Linked DNA regions of Homo sapiens: regions 2, 3, 4 and 5 are each linked to region 1. Evidence: promoter capture Hi-C in 16 types of primary human blood cells and fetal thymus (Javierre and others, 2016). All regions are on one chromosome and are shown on one strand. Each heading gives the region's core, a stretch centred on a gene start or on the middle of the fragment in contact. The rest is flanking DNA. Distances are from core to core; before and after follow the strand shown.

Evidence for each region. Contacts are between HindIII fragments. The CHiCAGO score rates a contact against its expected background, and 5 or more counts as called.
Region 2: a contact is called between a fragment that was not itself captured here and the fragment with the promoter of CGRRF1 in region 1, in 1 of 17 cell types (M0 macrophages). The highest score is 5.4, in M0 macrophages.
Region 3: a contact is called between a fragment that was not itself captured here and the fragment with the promoter of CGRRF1 in region 1, in 1 of 17 cell types (M1 macrophages). The highest score is 5.6, in M1 macrophages.
Region 4: a contact is called between a fragment that was not itself captured here and the fragment with the promoter of CGRRF1 in region 1, in 3 of 17 cell types (M0 macrophages, M1 macrophages and endothelial precursors). The highest score is 7.9, in M0 macrophages.
Region 5: a fragment that was not itself captured here is called in contact with the fragment with the promoter of CGRRF1 in region 1 in 16 of 17 cell types (M1 macrophages, activated CD4 T cells, megakaryocytes and 13 more); the score reaches 12.1 in M1 macrophages.

What each region holds. Positions count from the first base shown.
Region 1 is chr14:54,508,484-54,511,327 of GRCh38, forward strand. CGRRF1 (cell growth regulator with ring finger domain 1) reads left to right here and starts at 1,423. Exons shown (of 6, transcript NM_006568.3): 1 at 1,423-1,580. The coding sequence starts at 1,477. RefSeq lists silencers at 1,084-1,513, 1,313-1,498 and an enhancer at 1,674-1,903. The HindIII fragment of the contact is 20,688 bases long and covers 629-2,844 here.
Region 2 is chr14:55,003,478-55,006,321 of GRCh38, forward strand. All of the region lies in intron 7 of WDHD1 (WD repeat and HMG-box DNA binding protein 1), which reads right to left. It also overlaps the pseudogene RPSAP13. Among named protein-coding and RNA genes, the nearest start is that of WDHD1, 22 kb to the right of the region's middle. The HindIII fragment of the contact is 1,352 bases long and covers 687-2,038 here.
Region 3 is chr14:54,855,934-54,858,777 of GRCh38, forward strand. All of the region lies in intron 3 of GCH1 (GTP cyclohydrolase 1), which reads right to left. Among named protein-coding and RNA genes, the nearest start is that of MIR4308, 21 kb to the right of the region's middle. The HindIII fragment of the contact is 202 bases long and covers 1,332-1,533 here.
Region 4 is chr14:54,827,310-54,830,153 of GRCh38, forward strand. No RefSeq gene overlaps it. Among named protein-coding and RNA genes, the nearest start is that of MIR4308, 49 kb to the right of the region's middle. The HindIII fragment of the contact is 1,921 bases long and covers 540-2,460 here.
Region 5 is chr14:54,791,552-54,794,395 of GRCh38, forward strand. It overlaps SAMD4A (sterile alpha motif domain containing 4A), which reads left to right. Exons shown (of 13, transcript NM_015589.6): 13 at 1-1,761. Among named protein-coding and RNA genes, the nearest start is that of MIR4308, 85 kb to the right of the region's middle. The HindIII fragment of the contact is 178 bases long and covers 1,365-1,542 here.

The DNA.
Region 1 (2,844 bases), core at 173-2,672:
AATTGGTACATTTCTGGAGAGCAGTGTTTTTACAAAATCTTTAAAATGTACATTTTTTAAAACCATAGTTCCACCTCTAGTAATTTATCCTAAGGAAATACTTTAGCTGTAGGGATGTTCATTGCAGTGTTATTTATAGCAATGAAAAATTCTCCAACAGTTGAGGGCTGATTAAAGTATATATTTTCACAAATCAGATATATAGTAATTAAAAATTGTGTTGTAGAAGCAAGCTTCTCAAACAGTGCTGCTCCAGAGACTACGTGCTCATTTGCCAAGGAATATGTGAGGCCATAGGACAAACTTAGTTCATCTTTCTCAACACGAATTTTACTGGTGATTTAGGAGTGTGACAGAGGCTACTAGTTAACTATCCCAATGTCCATTCTCTTTCCTCCTCAGTAACAAAACTCTTGATTTGTACCAGGGTGTGTTGCTGCTCACGAATAATAAGACTACATATCCCCATTCTCTGATGTGGCTAGATGTGGCTTTAGGAGTAAATGCAAACCAACGAGGTGTCAATGAACTGTTATGAAAGACTTTCAGGGAGGCCACCTTGATGGAGCTGACTCACAGGGTTGAGACAAGGGAGTGACCATTTAGCTACTTTCAGTAATTTTTAAAAAGCTTCTGTGTGATTTAAAAAGTTTTTTAAAAATTATTCTTAAAGTGGAAACAAATACAGTTTCAAATGTTTGGCTAATTCTAATTTGAGGAGTACAAGAAGAGGAGAAAAGGAGGGGGATGTGGGAGGAAGCGGATGCTTTATTTCTAAGAGAATCTTGGATAAGCAATGCTGATTTTCCTCTATGATTAAGTCCAATCTGAAAAGGCTGACAAGTCTCGTATAAATTGCTTGTGGTAGAGACTCCTTTTTTTGTGTTTTCACTGTGCTTATGGTTATTTCATTTTGTAGAATCCAAGATGCCCGCCCTCCTCCTCCTCCTCCTCCACCCTCTCCCAAATTTGCCTAAGATATAATAGGCAGGGTTTCAGGATTTAGAAACGATGCACGTAGATTTCAGACTGCGCCTCTCTCTGACATCAGAAAACCTACATTGCCTAAGGCTGGCACAGAGTTGGCCCCAAAGTCTACTTAGAATTTGCCGGCGGAACAGCAATGACCACTGGGCCACAGCGCTTAAGACGCCCGCTGGGTACCAATCCTGGGAGTCGGGGGCGGTGCGAGTCGGGCCCCCCCCATCCCAGGTCTGCGTAGCCAATAGCTCGGGACGGGAGCGGGAGGGGCGTGGCGTGTCCGGCAGGGGGCGCCGTGATTGGCACGCCAGCTCCCGCTGTCCGCGAGGCTGCCCTAAAGTCTAGCTCATGAGAACCCCAGGCAAGTGCGGACCTACAAAGTTTGTCCGCTCCGGGGCACTGTAGTGGCTTTTACCCTGGCCGGGCGGGCGGGGCTCAGCCGGGCTGGGCTGGGCTCCGCGGCTGGAGCCGGGCTCTACCCAGAGCAAGACCCTGATGGCTGCGGTGTTTCTGGTAACGCTTTATGAATACTCGCCGCTTTTCTACATCGCGGTGGTCTTTACCTGCTTCATCGTGACCACCGGCCTGGTATTGGGATGGTAAGTGTCCCAGGGGTGAGAGACGAAGGGGCGGATACCGCCAGAGTGGGGTCGCGACGAGCAGCAGGGGGCACCGGAGCCGGAGGGCCGCGGGCCGGAGGACGTCGGGGATTCGGTGTCCCCGGGTGCCTAGAACTCCGACTTTCTCTGGGAGGAAAACAAGGTGGACGCTGCACCTGCGTCACTGCCCTGCATCACCGTTTGGTCCGTGTCGCTGGGGCATCTTGGGGTGGTACCGCATTGGGGTGTTTTACTCAGCTTTGTTTCTAGGCGATAAAGCAGCCAGGAAGGGCTTGGGCTTGGGCTTGGTGTTGGGAGAAAGTGCTTCTCTAGTAGGCTTCTGTCCCGGATTCGGGCCTACTGTGTGTCCTGGATGAGTTAGTCACCTGTGCTACAGTGCACAGACTGGACAGTAAGCGAGGTTAACAGTTGTGATTCTGACCTGAATGGAGCCCTTAGCCTCAGATCTTTCAGAGTAACTTGTAACTGAACTGTTACCGTTTGAGAATTTAATGGTTTCTGTATACATTCCACACCTTTTGAAGTAATATTTAGTCGATAGAATTGTAAAATCATAATTTTAGAGCTGGAAGAGACCTTAGAAATATGTAACACCGAGGGTAGGACAGTTGCCTATTGGAGACAAGGAGAATGGTCTGTTAGATAACCGCTGAGCAATTCTTCTAGCCTAGAGGTTCAATTTCTCTCTTGAGGAGATGCTATTGTATCATGTTTAGACAAGCCTTGTAAATAACGAGTTGAAACCGTGTAACTAGCCCACAACAGTTTTTCTAGGCTGCAGCCTCCAAAATCCCTTTGAGATGATAATAGTTACAAAAAGATCAAACAGCAGTTCTAAGTGGATAACAGCCATGGTCTGAAGAGGTCAGAGGGGACTCTGTTGAAGAGGGACATGAGCTGGATTTTGGAGAATGAGCATTTTGAAAAATAAATGGAGTTAAATGTATATAGTAGGGAAGAAAAAGCATCTCAGAGAAGACAGCATGAGCATAGGGGCAGAGAACATGTTAGTGAATAAAGAAGGCTACGTAAAACGAGTTTTAAAATAGCCTTTGGTCACATATATGTGATTGCCTTAAAGAACACGGGCCCTTGTCGGTTTCTGAAAATATATGCCATCTTTAGGAAGTGACAAAAGTTTTAACCTGTCCACACTGCTCCTCACCCTACCAGCAATAGAGCATAGAATTCCTTGCCTTGTATGTGGGTGAGGATTGGAAATACAAATTCCTTATTTGTGGGG
Region 2 (2,844 bases), core at 113-2,612, 490 kb after region 1:
GCACTCCAGCCTGGGCAACAGAGTGAGACCATGTCTCAAAAAAAAGGAAAGAAAAAATAATTTTAAAAGCCAATTGTGTATATATGTATAAAAAAGAAAGAAAAACGAACTATATATATATAGTTGCCCAGGCTGGAGAGAAGTAGTGCCATCTTGGCTCACTGCAACCTCTGCCTCCCAGGTTCAAGCAATTCTCCTGCCTCAGCCTCCCGAGCAGCTGGGACTACAGGCGCACACCACCACGCCTGGCTAATTTTTGTATTTTCAGTAGAGACGGGGTCTTATCATGTTGGCCAGGCTGGTCTCGAACTCCTGACCTCAGGGGATCCACTCGCCTCAGCCTCCCAAAGTGCTGGGATTATAGGCGTGAGCCACTGTGCCCAGCTACCAACTGTATATTTTTTATGTACACTGTCTGCTCATGTCTTTGCTCATCTTTCTAATGGGTTTCTATTGATTTGTAAGAATACTTTGCACACTATGGAAATTAGCTCTGTTTTATTGTTTCAAATTTTCTTCCCCAGTTTGTCATTTGTACTGTGACTAATATTTTGTACCATGCAAAACTATTTACTTTTTATACAATCTACTTTATTAATTTTATTTCCTGAAAAATTTCAAAAGAATAGAAAAGTTGAAATAATAATATAGTAAATACCTATATATAGACTCATCATGTAGAAGCAAGCTTCCAAGATGGTCCTCAAAGATTCCCACTCCACTTCCTGGTATTCATATCCTTGTGCTAATACATTTGCTAAATCTCCTTTTCTCTACCTTTATATACACTAACTTTCCATATACATTTGGTTCTATTTATCTCTTTAACAGGTATGTGTCTATTCATAACTCAATAGCAAACTTATAATTCTCATAACTTTATGTTTTATTATCTAACTGAATTATTTGCATCACTTTTCTTTTTCAAAACTTTTCATTTTCCACATGGACTTTCCCTTTTTTTTTAGCAACCAATGTTTATTTTCTTTTTTTGAGATAGAGTCTCGCTCTATCACCTGAGCTAGAGTGCAGTATTGTGATCTTGGCTCACTGCAACCTCCGCCTCCTGGGTTCAAGCAATTCTTATGCCTGAGACTCCCAAGTAGCTGGGATTACAGGCATGTGCCACCATGCCCAGCTAATTTCTATATTTTTAGTAGAGACAGGGTTTCGCCATGTTTCCCAGGCTGGTCTTGAACTCGTGGCCTCAACTGATCCACCTGTCTCAGCCTCCCAAAGTGCTGGGATTATGGGCGTGAGCCAGCGAGCCCGACCCAATGTTTATTTTTCATCAACCTTATTTCCATGTTGCTTAAGAGCCTGTGCAAGAACAGCTTAAGATCACTCAGTGGTTGTTCCTATGCATTCAGTGGTCTGAGCAGTGGGGAGCCGCAGACCAGTCTTCTGTGGCAGGCTGAGCACTCCAGTTTTCAGGAGGGAACTGCTAAATAGGCACAGAGGGCACCTGCACACCATCAGACCAGTCTGCAACCTCAGGTTGAGGAGCACCGAACTCAGGAGCTGGAGTAGTCCATTCACCCTGAAATTCCTCCTTGGTCACAGCCTTTTCAGCAGCAGGCTGCTCTTCTTTTTCAATCTCCTCAGGAACACTGTAGAAGTAGAGATCAGGCATGACCTCCCACAGGAAATGGTGCCACACATGCGAACTTCCTGGATCGGCATCCACCACATCAATCCCACTGAGTGAGCTCCCTTGCTGTTGCATGGGATGGTAGTGTCCACATAGCACAGAGGAAAATCTGTGTGACACAGAGCAATGGTAGGTACGTTAACATAAGATGCCTCTGTGAGAGGCTGGTGATCAGCACTGGGATTAGTCACCATAAGAAGCTGTGGCTCCTAAAAGGCTGCCTGGATCTGGTTAATGAAAGTTCCAGGAGTGAAGCAGCCAGCAACTGGAGTGACTCCAGTGGCAGCAGCAAACTTCAGCATGGCCTTCGGACCAGTATTCCTGGATGATATGACACTGACATTGAAAGAGTTTTCAACAGCAACAATGGCACAAGCTCCCAGGAGAAGCTTCTCCCAGGTCCTCTTCAGATTTATGATGTAGATGCCAACACTTTTCCTTTTATAGATGTACTGTCCCATCTGGAAGACAAAGCTGGTGCTACCTAAGTGGGTTCCTCCTGCAAGGAACTTAAGGACATCCTCCTCCTTCATTTGCAGGACATAGAGGTTCTAGACATTGTGAAAGTTTCCCTTTAAGTTACGATGGGAATCCAGAACAACATCATAAGGATCCTTCTCTGGGTAGTGCAGAAAGCCCTCATGGGCTTTAGAATCAGCTCAATTTGGTCCTCCTAGACATCTTATTGGTACTTTATTTTACTTTGTTTTCTTTTTTTTTTCCTTAGAGCCTTCAGATGAGACATTTTATTTTTAAGGCAGGGTTTTGCTTTGTTGCCTAGGCTGGAGTACAGTGACAAGATCATAGCCCACTGCAGCCTTAATCTCCTGGGCTCAAGTGATACTCCTGCCTCAGTCTCCCAAGTAGATGGGACTACAGGAATATGCCACCACACCTGGCTAATTTTCATTTTTTTGTGGAGACGAGGTCTTGCTATGTTGCCCAGGCTGGTGTCAAACTCCTGAGCTCAAGCGGTCCTCCTGCCTCAGCCTCCCAAAGTGCTGGGATTATAGGTGTGAGCCACCACACATAGGCTGTTGTTTTATATGTGAATGTTATCAAAACTATAGATTAATTTAGGGAAGAACTGACATCTTTATTTATATCAAATAATTCCTTTCTAAGAATATATGTTTCTATTTATCCAAGTCTTCTTTTACTTCTCTTGGTAGCATGTTAAAAGTTTCTTTATA
Region 3 (2,844 bases), core at 183-2,682, 350 kb after region 1:
TTCTAACTCTGGGGAATGAAAATAGGTAAGAAAAGTTTTCACTTTATTCACTCATTTGTATTTAAATGGTATGTTGCTTTTATAGTCAAAAAAGAAAAAAAAATACTGCTCCCTCTGTAATCTAATACTCACCTCACTTACTCTTACTTCCATCAGTCAATCTGGTTCCCATCCACTGGAATAGGCCTTGCTCCTACCCTCTGACTGGTCTTTGCTCATGCATTAACTATACCTAGAGAAACTTCTCCCCCATTTAGAATTCTGCTCATCCCTCCACCTCCAGGTCTATTCACCTGCCAGGCCACAGCCATCATGGCTCCTCTGAACTTGGAGCTACAGCAGGCATTTCCATGGCACTTGCAGTCTTGCCCTGTGCACTCTCCTTGAGGGTGGCTGCCATGTCCTGCTTCTTTAGCCTCCACAGTAGCTGGCACAGTGCCCACCCAACAGGTCAGCCATGGCTACCTGAGATACTACAACTCTAAATTCAAGATTTCGTACATTCACTCAATTATTTATTTATTTATTTATTTTTAGTGACACAGAGTCTTGCTCTGTCACGAGACTGGAGTGCAGTGGTGAAATCTCGGCTCACTGCAACCTCCGCCTCCCAGGTTCAAGCGATTCTTCCATCTCAGCCTCCGAAGTAGCTGGGATTACAGGCGCATGCTACCATGCCCTGCTAATTTTGGTATTTTTAGTAGAGATGGGGTTTCACCATGTTGGCCAGGCTGGTCTGGAACTCCTGACCTCAAGTGATCTGCCCACCTCGGCCTCCCAAAGTGCTGAGATTACAGGCATGAGCCACCTCACCCAGCCGAGGCTCAGTTATTTCTAAGGGAAGAAAATGAATACATGTTCAATGGCTTTTCAGCAACAAAAGAAAGTTCTATTCAAACTAAGTTTATTCTAGAATTCTACTAGAGTTGAGCCAGATCAACTCACTTCTGGCATTTTCTTGTTACTTAAGGCTTTACTGCTTGATATTTGACTTCACTGGCACTGAAAGGTCATTCATTTAAAGGCAAGCATATAACAAACTTCATATATAAGATTAAAATGAGCAGTGAAGTTTTGCTAAGACATTCAGCTTTTATTCCTCTTCATTCTCTAAATATTCTTACTTCTTATAAGGAATAAGTAGTTGGATAAAATCTTAGTCTTCTTTTCTATTTAATAGACTCTTTATTCAAATTTTTTGCAAAATATTTGAAAGCAACATACACTTGGTTCTTTGGCTTCATGTTCCATTTTATTCTTAAATTTTAATCCTATTAGTCTAAGGACAAATCCCCATGCTAATAATCAACTCCTTTGTATTGTTTCATAAAAGCTTAATTATTTGAGATCTTTTCCTTTCACTTGGAAAGGAAATAACTAAGATTATTTCCTTCTACCACCAGGTTGCCATTTATTGTATGATCTCACTGAATCACTCAAGAGTCCATTTCCCATAAAGTGTTAATCATGATCAACAGTTGGTTTTTCAGAGAAGGCTGTTACATTAAGACCAAGGCCTAATGTGATCTGCCAAGCTTTTTTACACTATGAAACTATCCATTACACCTTTCACATATGGACAGTCTGTTATAGGCATCAGCAGTGCTGGAATTTCTATATGGGCAAGGTATAGGGTTAGCAATCTTGCTGACAGGGAGGCCCAGGGGACTGGGCCTACAGCTATGTTTGCACAGTAAGCATGCTGATTTTACTTAGACTGTATATTATAAAACCATAAGAATAACCAATTTTAGTAAAGATACTTTTACTCACAGTTGACATGAAATTGGTTTAATACATCATTAGTTGAGGGTAAGTTACTGGGAAGGGAGTCGTTAATAAAAATTATAGTAAGATTAATTACTCCCAATCACTACCAACACACTTTTTCTCAGCAACTTTTCAGCACTGCCACCAGGGATGGATCACACGCAAGCAGCCAGAATGTTTCTGGATTTGTGCTAAGAGCCTTATTCCAGTGAAGCAATTACAGCTATGATATAATATTCTTTCATGGTGCCAAGCAGCCCTATCTAATAGCAAAATAGCTGAGCAGGAATGAGGTCAGAAACTGGGGAAGTTAAATTTGTCTCTTCTACCCACTTTCTTATTGATCCCCAGAGGAAATGAATGAGAAAGTGGAAGTGAAAACAAAGTAACAGGAACAACTTTAGAGGGCAGTTGTCAGATTGCTGGAGTAGTTTTTTTTTTACAGATTCCAACACAGAATTGAGAAATATCAGGACCACCATTTCACAACTGTGTTAAATCCCAGGGCCTGCATAAAGAAACAGGAACACATCAGAGCCACAGCACAGTCAACTGGTCACAGAGACTCATTTATTCCTCTTCTTTTATTTTTATTTTTTTGAGATAGGGTCTTACTCCATCGCCCAGGCTGGAGTGCAATGGCACAATCTCGGCTCACTGCAAGCTCTGCCTCCCGGGTTCAAGTAATTCTCCTGCCTCAGCCTCCTGATTAGCTGGGATTACAGGTGTGCGCCACCACGCCCAGCTAATCTTTGTATTTTTAGTAGAGATGGGGTTTCACCATGTTGGTGAGGCTGGTCTCAAACTCCTGACCTCAAGTGATCCGCCCGCCTCAGCCTCCCAAAGTGCTGGGATTACAAGTGTGAAAGACGGCACCCGGCCGAGACTCATTTATTTCAATTATGATATGGTCACTATAACCTCAAGTTATTCAAACTTAGCTTGATTATTTTTGAAAAAAAAAAAGAGTAGGAACACTTTACCCGACCCCTTCATCTTGTTCTTAACTTTCTCTCTCTCTCCACACACACACACACCTCCCAGTATTTCCTCCATCACTCAAAATTCACTAAC
Region 4 (2,844 bases), core at 250-2,749, 320 kb after region 1:
CCTGAATTAATACAATAGCCTCCTAAGCTGTCCATCCTCCAACTCTGATTACAACCCACAATCCCCTGCTTGACATCTTTCCACCAGCTTTTCGCAACTTCAATATCAGTTCTTGGGCAGGGCATGTCTGTGGTATGTCCTCTGCCTATCTCTTCGGTCTCTATCGCCACTACTCCCCTCTCCAACATGGGATCAACCTATAATAGAGCTTTTATTCAGTGTGCTTCAAATATTTGTTTACATTACATATATCTCTCCCTAGACTTGAGGACGGGGAAGTCTCACTCATATTTATACTCCAGCATGCAACACAGTTAAACCTAAGGAAACAAAGCCTTAACAAAGGCACTTGGAAGATCTGCGTTCTCCCCATCAATGGCAACTACTGGTGACAAGGAAGGAAGCTATGGGTGCTGTCTTCTAGGGAGTCTTCTCAGGGCAGGCAGGACCTCACTTCCAGGACTCACCTGGCCTGGTCACCTGTGGGTGGAGACAGGGCCTGACATTCATGAAATCTCCTTTATGTCCAACCCTTCAGAAGCTTCTTTTGATGCCAAGGGGCCCAACTCAGAGCCCACATCTCTATGTCTATGACCTCCTACATTATTTTTGTCTTGGTAATGAAATTTCCAACAATGTAATACTCACCGAAATAGAGCTTCATAGGGATGTTCCTATACTTAGACAGTAAAAACAAATGAGAATAGGGTAGAGGAAAAGGAGAAGCATGAAGTTTAACTCCTTAGAGCCCATCAAGACCTTGAAGCCCTTTAAGACAAAATTTCCATAGTTGCAAATGCTGGGGGAACTGATGCTTACCTGCTCCATGTAAATTCCTCTTTGCAGCCCAGATGGCTGGAGCTCTTTGCTATGCATGGGAGGGAACCACACAAATGTGTTAGATCTGAAGCAGGGGTTTGCAAATTATGGCTTGCTGGCCAAATCCTACCCACCATCTGTTTTTGTATGGTCCATGAGCTAAGAATGCTTTTTACATTGTTAATGAATGAAAAAAAAAAAAAGAATATTTCACGGCCACAAAAATGGCATGAAATTCAAATTTTGGTGTCCATGAATAAAGTTATATTGGAACACAGTCACATTCATTTACATATGGTTTATGGTGGATTCCACACGAGAATGGCAGAGTTGAGTAGTTATAACAGAAACCATGTGACCTGCAAAGTCTAAAAGTTTTACCATCACGCATTTTCCAGAAAAAGGTTGCCAACCCCTGATCTGAAGTACCAAACACCTGTGAATAACAGAAAACTAAAGATGCAAAATGCAGGCCAAATAAAGTTAGTGAGAGCAGTGATTCCTTTATTTCATCTAAGAATTCATTCATAGTCATGTGCCACATAAGGACGTTTTGGTCAATGATGGACCGTATATACGATGGCGGTCTCATAGGGTCCCACACCCTATTTTTAGTGTACCTTTTCTACGTTTTAGTAAGTTTAGATACACAAATACTTACCAGTGTATCACAACTGCCTACAGTATTCAGTGCAGGTTTGTAGCCTAGGAAAAATAGGCCATACTATACAGTTTAGGTGGGTAGTGAGCTATACCATCTAGGTTTGTGGAAGTAAAATCTATGATGTTCACAAAATGATGAAATCGACTAACGATGCATTTCTCAGAAGGAATCCGTGTCGTTAAGCAACACATAACTGTACTTCACTTGTATCCTTTTCTCCCAAAACATCACTTTAGTTGTAACACTCAAGGATATTTCAAATAATCATTACAGACATCCTGCTTACCCATATTCTCTTGGCTCCATATGTGTAGATATAGATATATTTTTTCACTTTTAACATAGTAAATACAGGCACCTAATTTTAAAAAATCAAATAGTGACAAACAGAAGTTTTATAATCTAAGCAAGAGTTCTTTGTCTTTCTCCCTCCCACCTCCTCTCTTAAAGAGACAATCACTTATGTCTTTTTGCTATTTCTTTGGTAGTTACTTGATAAAAAATTGTGCTTAAATTGTTCCTTCTTGATAGATGAATTTTGATGTTATCTAATCTTTGTTATGACAGATGAAGATTTAACTCATACTTCTCCTTCCTCCCAAGATAAAGGTTATCTCACAACAATTTTTAGTTAACTGAGTAATCAGTACTTACATTATGATTATGCAAATAACTTCTCACCACAGGGGCAAGTGGTAGCTCACGGTGACCTTTTTTTTTTTTTTTTTTTTTGAGAGAGGGTTTCACTCCTGGTCAAGCGATCCTCCTGCCTCGGCCTCCACATAGCTGGGACTACAGGCACATGCCACCACACCTAGCTAATTTTTAAAATTTTTTTGTGAAGATGAAATCTCATTACGTTGCCCAGGCTGGTCTGGAACTCCTGGCCTCAAGCAATCCTGCATTCTCAGCCTCCCAAAGTGCCACGGTTATCTTTCTAATTTATACTCCTTTTTGTTTTGTTCCATGTATCTGAAAGCTTTAGAAGGGGGAATGCTGTCCTGGTACCATCAGAAGTTCTAGGTCTCCAAATAATGATCTTCCCCAAATTCAGTACATTATCAGAGCAATTACATATTTAGAAAAGAGATTATGCAGCACAGATATTGCTTTAAAAATAAAAGGTCTGTTCAGAATTATAGGAATGTGAGTCTGAACTTTCCTTCCAAGTCGTAATGCCTCACTGTGGCTTTTACAGAAGGCAGAGTCTGGAATTTTTGCTTCCACTCCTAAGGGAAAGAGTAAAAAGAAAAGGGTGAGGCAGGCAGTTCTGCATCCCTCATTTCGTTGGCTTACACAACACTTTATCAAGAACAAATTCCCCCAAATGTCCATTCTCCAGTCTCTAAAAGTAAGAGAGT
Region 5 (2,844 bases), core at 204-2,703, 280 kb after region 1:
CTGTTATTAATAACAACATAATTCTTTTTTTAAAGAAGAAAAGCTTATTTTTCATTGACAGTGTATAGATTTATCTACTTAGTTGTGTTTTGCTATTAGTGTTTTAATTTTTTTTTTAAGTTGAGTGTTTGATAAATTTTAAGACCCTGTCCCCACCTTGTTTTGAGTCCTGTGTTGACTACAGGTATATAGCTCAATTTAAAAATCCTAAAGCAAAAGAATTTTATTTATAAAAGAATCAAACAGTTGCATGCATGAGGCTGTGAAGTCAGATATTTAGTAATAAAAGCAGCAGTGCCTTTTTTTGTATTTACCCATTGACCCCCACCAAATGCAACTGTTTTATATTAAGAAAATAGTAACAATTTTAAAATCTCAGAGTAAAATCTATTTCACTACATGCTTTTCCCCCCTTGTTCTGATTTAAGCAGTGTGTACTTGGCATCTCTACATTGTCCTAGGGACAGTGGTGTTCTACAATATTATCATGTATGATGTTTTATTGGTGCTTTTTATTCATAGTGGCTTCTTACCAGAAACAGTAGGAAGAAACACATGAACTGTGTACAAGACATGAAACATTGCTGCTGATATGTTGTTTTTTCACATGCTTTTGAGTTTTCACTTTTTAAACGAGAGCCAGCAAGCAAAATAGATGTGGCTGGGTCTGCCTGTCCGGGCGGCTCTTTGCACCGAGCTCTCAAATCCTGTGTATTGAGGGTTCCTTTTTGGTACTCAGGATTGGAGCTACAGCTGGGCCCCCCTCTCTCCCATTCGTTTGAAGAGACACTGAGGGAAACAAGGGTTTCTTTTGAGGTGTCCTTGGCTGCCTTTTACGGGATGGGAGCCTTCTCCGGATCTTTTGTTCTTCTGCACCTCTTGTAGCTACTGCCGGTGCAAGGTTGTAGATGTTATTCCCCAGGAGCCTGGGCTTGGGGGCTGAGCTGGGCTGAATGCAAAAGCATGCAACCAGAAGGCGGGCAAGGGGAGGAAAAGCAGGCCTGGCCTCATTGGTCCCCTGGAGATGTCTGTAGCAGTCAGCTCCAGCTTGGGCCTGGGGAAGCAGCCTGACCAAGGCGCTCAGGTGTGCCTGTTACAAGAAGAACCTGCAGAAGGATAATTTGCACATGGAGCTGTGATAACACTAATGTTGATTTTTTTTTTTTTTACAAGTCATCAGAGATGTTTGCAAAGTGAGTTTTATTTTTTTGTAATTCCTTTATCTTTACTTAAAGGTGAATGTGTATTCCTCTGGGAGGAATAGGAAGAAAACAGGAATGTTAATAATGTCGAACAGAAAACTTCCTCCCTTATTAATATATAATCCTCATGTATTTATGCCTAATGTAAGCTGACTTTTAAAAAGCTTTCTTTTGTTGCATGCCCTGTGCAGGCATCTGTATTGTACATGCATGCCTTTCGTCCTGTTTTCCTGTATAAAGTTAGTGAACAAAGAAATATTTTTGCCTAGTTCATGTTGCCAAGCAATGCATATTTTTTAAATTTGTCATATATGGAAAGAGCATGTTTGTTACATGTAAAAGCTTTACTGATATACAGATATACTAATGTTTGAAGATGCTGTTCTTTGCAAGTGTACAGTTTTCAAATGTTGTTACCAGTGAAACACCCTTGTGGTTTAAACTTGCTACAATGTATTTATTATTCATTTCCTCCCATGTAACTAAGAATCATGGCTATATTTCATATCAACGTTATATTGAAAGTGAAGGGAAATGATTAATACAAGGTTTTGTAACACTGGTGTGTCTTTTTCTTTTTTTCAACATACATGATTGAATAGAAAATAAGAACTGAGGCCTGGCGTGGTGGCTTATACCTGTAATCCCAACATTTTGGGAGGCTGAGGCAGGTTGGTCACTTGAGGTCTAGAGTTCGAGACCAGCTTGGCCAACATGGTGAAACCCTGTCTCTACTAAAATACAAAAAAAAAAAAAAAAAATAAGCCAGGCATGGTGGTGCATGCCTGTAATCTCAGCTGCTTGGGAGGCTGAGGCAGGAGAATCACTTGAACCTAGAAGGCAGAGGTTGCAGTGAGCCAAGATCGCACCACTGTACTCCAGCCTGGGCAACAGAGGGAAATTCTGTCTCAAAAAAAAAAAAAAAAAGACGACAAGAAGAAGAAAAGAAGAACTGAGTCAAATAGCCCCCTCAAGGAAAAACCAGAATGGGATCTCTGTTAACTATTCCCACCTGGCCATTCTGCACATGCCACATCTTTAGCTATGAGCTGCTTTTTAACAAAAATATGGAGAGAGGGTTTTAGAAATGTTTGCAGTTTGATCTGTGCCCAAAACAGCCAATAAATTTGTCACCAGACTTAGGGGCATGTTTCTAAATACAAACTCTAACTTTACAGACATTGTTGTTTATAGCTTGTTCCCCTCATTGTCTTTGAAATATTTCACACCTTAATCATGGCATCAAGAAACAGCCTCTTTGGAGCTTACCTATCCATGGCTTGAATCTCATTCTAATATTTCTAATTCCTGTACGATATACATTCTAAATATTGTGTCAGTTAAGCATATGAGTGGAGAGATGCACCTGGTTTTGAATTCTGGCTCAAGCATTCTCTAGCTGTGTGATCTTAGACAAGTTACTTATGTCTCTAAGCCTTGGGTTTGTTTTTTGGCTTATGATATTCAAAGTTTATATAATTAAACCTCTAATAAAAGGTGAAAACAAAAGAAAACATATGATAGAGAGGTTCCTGCCACCATAGCCTAGCAACCCCAGAGTTCTGAGAGGCAGCCACAGCTTGACATTATGACAGTGACCACACAGTGACTCCCTTTTGATCAGGCTCAGCTGCTCAACTGA